Regions from separate parts of the Homo sapiens genome. Here region 1 is linked to region 2. The links are contacts of gene promoters, found by promoter capture Hi-C in blood cells and fetal thymus (Javierre and others, 2016). All regions are on one chromosome and are shown on one strand. Each heading gives the region's core, a stretch centred on a gene start or on the middle of the fragment in contact. The rest is flanking DNA. Distances are from core to core; before and after follow the strand shown.

Region 1 (3,147 bases), core at 171-2,670, 270 kb before region 2:
AACACACCTGAGAGTCGTGGGGCTTTATCTCAGAATGCCTGGGAGTACAGACCCATGAGCAAGCCAACTTCCTCCTTTCCCTCCTCTCCCCCGGCCCTCTGCTGCAGGGCAAGGTAAAGCTAGGTGCCTGGGATACTGCTGGGTTTTTTTTTATCTTTTTTTTTTTTTGAGATGGAGTCACTGCAACCTCCGCCTTCCAGTTTCAAGCGATTCTCCTGCCTCAGCCTCCTGAGTAGCTGGGATTACAGGTGCGCACCACCACGCCCGGCTAATTTTTGTATTTTTTGGTAGAAACGGGGTTTTGCCATGTTGCCCAGACTGGTATCAAACTCCCAGGCTCAAGTGATCTGCCCACCTCAGGCTCCCAAAGTGCTGGGATTATAGGCGTGAGTCACCACCACACCTGGCCTATTTTAACCATTTTTAAGTGTACAATTCTGGGACATTAAGCACATTTACAGTGCTGTGTGACCATCGCCACTGTCTTTTTTCCAGAACTACTACATCATCCCAAACAGAAATGGAGGCAGGTTTTCTTTTTTTGAGACGGAGTCTCCCTCTGTCGCCCAGGCTGGAGTGCAGTGTTGCGATCTCAGCTCACTGCAAGCTCCGCCTCCCGGGTTCATGCCATTCTCCTGCCTCAGCCTCCCAAGCAGCTGGGACTACAGGCGCCCTCCACCACGCCTGGCTAATTTTTTGTATTTTTAGTAGAGACGGGGTTTAACCGTGTTAATCAGGATGGTCTCGATCTCCTGACCTCATGATCCGCCCGCCTCGGCCTCCCTAGAGGCAGGTTTTCTAAATGCTTGCATGAGTGGTTCTCCATCTTCAGCTTGTGTTAGAATCCTCTGGGGTGGGGGGCTTGTTAAAACATAGATTGCTGGGTCCTCCCTCCTCCTCCACCCCCCGCCACATCCCCCACCCCCAGTTGCTGATTCAGTAGGTCTGAGTGGGGCCCCAGGATTTGCATTTCTAACCAGCTCCTGGGTGACGCTGATGCTGTTGATTTGGGGCCACGCCTGGAAGATCGCTGTTTGAGATCAAAAGGTTTGCAGGTCAGAGTGGATGACGGCATCCTTCCAGGTCAATGAGAGAAGCCAAACTTCTATGACCTATGAGATAAGGGGTTTGTTATAGGAATTAGTTCTTATGCATTCATAGGGGGGGCGGCAGAAAGGAAGGTGGAAGAGTTGCCGGGGACCAGGGGCATCGCCACCTGGCCCTGGGTACACGGGCAAACTGGTGGAGAAGTCTACAGCCAGCCGTTGTCTGGTCCATCCCCAGCCAAGTGTCCGCGGGGGGGCCTGGGCTGCTGTTGGTTAACAGGACCAGCAGTCAGGAGAAAGAGCTGGATGCAGAATGGAGGACAGGCTCGAATGTGCTGGAACCCACGGGGCTGTCTCTCACCTCATCCAATCATGATGACCTCTAAAGTGTAATGGTCGCTGCTTCACTTCCATCTCCCAGCTTTCCACAGATTCCTCTTTTGACCAATTATAACCCAGAACCAGTCAGAGAAGGGGATTCTGGGAAAAGTAGTTCCAGCTTAACCAAGCCCGCACAGCAGGAACTACCACAGCTGATCAATCAGTCCTTGCCGCGGAACCTCCTCCTTGAACCCACAGGTGGTTTCTGGGGCTCTGCTGGGCGTTCCCTGACTCTCTTGACAGGACCTTCTAGCAGAAACAGATGTGGTCCATCCCAACAACCCCTTGCTCAGATCATCAGCTGAGAACTTAATAAAAGCAGATTTCCAGGCCCCAGCCCAGGCCTGCCGAGTCAGACTTCAGCAGTGGGACTCAGGAATCAGATTTTCAAACAAGCTCTCTAGCTGATTAACATACCCAGCCACGTTTGAAACTTCTGAAGTATGGAAAAGAAAGTGGACTCTGTCCAGGCACAGTGGCTCACACCTGTAATCCCAGCACTTTGGGAGGCTGAGGCAGGTGGATCGCTTGAGCCCAGGAGTGCAAGACCAGCCTGGGCAACATGGCAAAACTCCATTTCTGCAAAAAAGAAAAAATACCAAAATTAGTGGAGCATGGTGACACGTGCCTGTAGTCCCAGCTACTTGGAAGGCTGAGGTGGTAGGGTCACCTGACCCTGGGAGGTCAAGGCTGCAGTGAGCCAAGATTGTGCCACTGCACCCCAGCCTGGGCAACAGAGTGAGTGAGACCCTGTCTCAAAAAAAAAAAAAAAAAAAAAGGAAGGAAGGAGGAGGGAGGGAGGAAAGAAAAGAATGGAAAGGAAGGAAGGAGAGAGAGAAAGAAGAAAAAAGAAAGAGAAGAAGGAGAGAGAGAGAGACAGAGACAGAAGAAAAAGGAAAAGAGAAAGTAAGTGAACTCTGGGGCTAGACAGCCACGGGTTAGAATTCTGGTTCCACCACGTGCCAGCTTTGTGATCCTGAGCAAGTGACTTAACCCTTTATGATCCTATATTGTCTACAAGAGTTCCTCCTTTTCTATCATTTCACTCTCCACTGTTTCAGTTACCCATAGCCAACTACAATCTGAAAATATTAAATGGAAAATTCCGGAAAGATATGATTCATAAGTTTTAAATTGCATCCCATTCTGAGTAGTGTGATGAAATCTCACACTGTCCCACTCTGTCCTGCTCCAGACGTGAATCGTCTCTTTGTCCAGCAGATGGGTGCTGTCGACACTACCTGCTCATTGGTCACTTAGGAGCGGTCTGGGTTATCAGATCAGAAAACGTCGTCGTTATGTGTAAGGTCGGGTGCTGTCTGTTGTTTCAGGCATCCACTGGGGGTCTTGGAACGTATCCCCCGAGGATATGTACTCAGCTGTTAAATGGGCTCAATGCCTACCTTTTTCATGGAGGGTTGTGGGAACCGAATGAGGCCATGTGTAATAAACTTCTGGCAGGTGAAATATTATTGTGCTTAATCCAGTTAATAGTTGTGCCTGGACATGCCTAGGGAGTAGGTCAGATGGGCCCAGCATCTCCTCTTTCTGCTTAGGAATCTGGGGTTTAACCTGATCATATTCTTTTTTTTTTTTTTTTTTTTTTTGAAACGGAGTTTCGCTCTTTTGCCTAGGCTAGAGTGCAGTGGCGCAATCTCGGCTCACTACAACCTCTGCCTCCCAGGTTCAAGCGATTCTCCCGCCTCAGCCTTCCGAGTAG
Region 2 (2,920 bases), core at 262-2,761:
GCCGGAGGCTCTGGTAGAATTTCTGCTACTCAGTGCTTTGGGCCCTCAGATCTGCCACTGACCTTGACATTCAAGTTACAGAATTGTAGAACTGAAAGGAGCCTGAAAGTCCATCTGGTCCTTTTGCCCATTTTAGAGATGGGGAAACTGAGGACCTACAACTAAGCTGACTCCAGGAAGGAATCTGGCCAACTAAGCACCTTCCAGAGCCTGCTGCATCCCTGCCTCCAACCACAGCCCTGGAGGCAGGTGCAGGAGTGCATCAAGCCCAGGCAATTAGAAAGATGAGACAGAGAGAGAGCCAGGAAGCGATCCAATAGCACTAGAAAGGCAGAGAAGGAGCAGCATGTCTCCACAGCTTGAAGCCCCAGGCTGGTGTTAGAAGCTTTGGCTTCAAAGTCTGGCTCTGCTGCTGCCCAGCCGTGTGACCCTAGATGGTCACTTACCCGCTGAGTCTCAGCTTCCTCACTTTTATTTTATTTTTTTAGAGACAAGGTCTTGTTCTGTCACCCGCGCTGGAATGCAGTGTGGCACGATCACGGCTCACTGCAGCCTCGAACTCCTGGGCTCAAGCGATCCTCCTACCTTGGCCTCAGGAGTAGCTGGGACTACAGGCATGCACCACTGCGCCTGGTCCTTTCTCATCTCACCTCAGAGCAGATAACCGCGTCTATTTCATGTTGTTGGAAGAATTAAGTGAGATAATGCAAGAAGAATTGAGCGCAATGCCTGACACACAGTAGGTGCCCAATAAATAACTAAAAAGAATAAGGTAACGGCCTGTAATCACACCTGTAATCCTAGCACTTTGGGAGGCTGAGGTAGGCAGATTGCCTAAGCTCAGGAGTTCAAGACCACCCTAGGCAACAGGGTGAAACCCTGTCTCTACTAAAATACAAAAAAAAAAAAAAAAAAAAAATGGTGGCACACATCTGTAGTCCCAGCTACTTGGGAGGCTGAGACAGGAGAATCGCTTGAACTCGGGAGGCGGAGGTTGTAGTGAGCTGAGACTCCAGCCTGGGTGACAGAGCAAGATCCTGTCTCAAAAAAATAAATAAAATACAAAAGATTAACCTGGCGTGGTGGCAGGCGCCTGTAGTCCCAGCTACACAGGGGGCTAAGGCACGAGAATCGTTTGAGCCCGGGAGGTGGAGGTTGCAGTGAGCTGAGACTGTGCCACTGCATTTCAGCCTGGGCAACAGAGCAAGACTCCATCTCCAAATAAATAAATAAATAGTATAAGGTAGGGAGAGAGAATGAACACACACGTCAAACAGAGTGGGGTGGGGGATGCCAAAAAGCACTGCAACTCAGAATTTTCTGTTTCAGGATATTTGGAAAATCCATACTTCTAAGAAAGCCCTGTCTCCTGCCCAAATTAAACAGTAACCACCCAAGGTCAGGGAAAGGGCCTTATCAGAGCAGGTTTCTCTCCAAGGGGCGGTTTGGCCTTGACCAGGTGCACTCACCTGCTCCTGCCTATAAGTGTGCCCCAGCCCATCCCGATGGTCAGCCAGTCCTGAGCACCTAACCATGTTGGGCATCACTGTCCTCGCTGCGCTCTTGGCCTGTGGTAAGCGGTGGGGTGGGGCTGCAGCTAGCAGGCTGTGAGCTCGGGCTGGCCTCCAGGGCAAGGACGGGATGGGGAGTGGGGGGGCCTCTGCTCTCCAGGTAAGACACTTTGGGGTCCCCTGTGGGTTCAGATGCTACCAACCAGCTGTGTGTCAGACAAGCCACAGCCTGCCTGCCAACTCTGTTTCCACATCTGCAAAACAGGGAAGATGATCTGACGTGTCCCCAGTTAGAAATGAGGTGTGGAAAGCACCACGCAAGGGGGAGGGACACGAGATGCCTCATCCTGGGTTCACCCCAGGGACCATCGGGGTCTGCCTTTCCCAGCATTCTCTCTCCCTTGAGGATTCTCCATTCCATCATTTTGGTGGCGTTTTCCCAGATTAGGAGCCCAGGGACTTAGCTTAAATGCCACTTCTTCTCTGCAGGACCTGGAAAAGTCATTTCACCTCTCTAAATCTCACTAACTTTTTTGGCAAAGGAGAGCACTTAATGAAGAGTCCTTCCAGCTAACAACAACAACAGTAATAATAGCAGCTCCTGTTTCCTGTGTGTTTACTATGTGCCAGACGCTATGCTAGGCCCCTTACATGTAGGAGCCAATTTAATCCTCAAAACAACCTTAAGAGGTAGGGTCTATTGCCAGGCATGGTGGCTCACGCCTGTAATCCCAGCACTTTGGGAGGCCGAGGTGGGTGGATCACTTGAGATCAGGAGTTTGAGACCAGTCTGGCCAACAAGATGAAACCCCGTTTCTACTAAAAATACAAAAATTAGCCAGGCGTGGTGGCGGGCACCTGTAATCCCAACTACTCAGAAGGCTGAGGCAGGAGAATTGCTTGAACCCAGGAGGAGGTTGCAGTGAGCCGAGATCGCGCCATCAAACTCCAGCCTGGGCAACAAGAGTGAAACTCCGTCTCAAAAAAAAAAAAAAAAGAAAAAGAAAGAAAAAGAGGTAGGGTCTTTTCATAGCCCCATTTTACAGATGAGGACATCGAGGTTCCGTGCGACTTAGTATCTTGCCTGACATCACATGGCAGGTTAGTGGAAGAGGCAGAATTTGAGTCCACGTCTGTCTCGCGGAACAGCACGTGTTCTTGACCGCTCCACACAGCTTCCCAGCTATAACAGTGGATTTACTGCTCTCTCACACACACACCATGATGCAGGGGCCTAAAAACAGACAGAAGAACACAGGTGTACCGGGCACTCGCACACATGCCAGCCAGTTTTGTTTTGTTTTGTTTTGTTTTTTGAGATGGAGTTTTGCTCTTATCACCCAGGATGGAGTGCAATGGCACGATCTCGGCTCACTGCAACCTCCATCTCCCAGGCTCAAGCGATTCTC

What was found. Contacts are between HindIII fragments. The CHiCAGO score rates a contact against its expected background, and 5 or more counts as called.
Region 1: the fragment with the promoter of TMEM51-AS2 here is called in contact with the fragment with the promoter of CTRC in region 2 in 7 of 17 cell types (activated CD4 T cells, total CD4 T cells, erythroblasts and 4 more); the score reaches 6.8 in activated CD4 T cells.

The regions. Positions count from the first base shown.
Region 1 is chr1:15,170,204-15,173,350 of GRCh38, forward strand. TMEM51-AS2 (TMEM51 antisense RNA 2) reads right to left here and starts at 1,421. Exons shown (of 3, transcript NR_167931.1): 1 at 1,408-1,421; 2 at 978-1,112. All of the region lies in intron 1 of TMEM51 (transmembrane protein 51), which reads left to right. RefSeq lists an enhancer at 1,941-2,110. The HindIII fragment of the contact is 7,186 bases long and covers 1-3,147 here.
Region 2 is chr1:15,436,932-15,439,851 of GRCh38, forward strand. It overlaps CTRC (chymotrypsin C), which reads left to right and starts at 1,512. Exons shown (of 8, transcript NM_007272.3): 1 at 1,512-1,573. The coding sequence starts at 1,534. The HindIII fragment of the contact is 3,491 bases long and covers 384-2,920 here.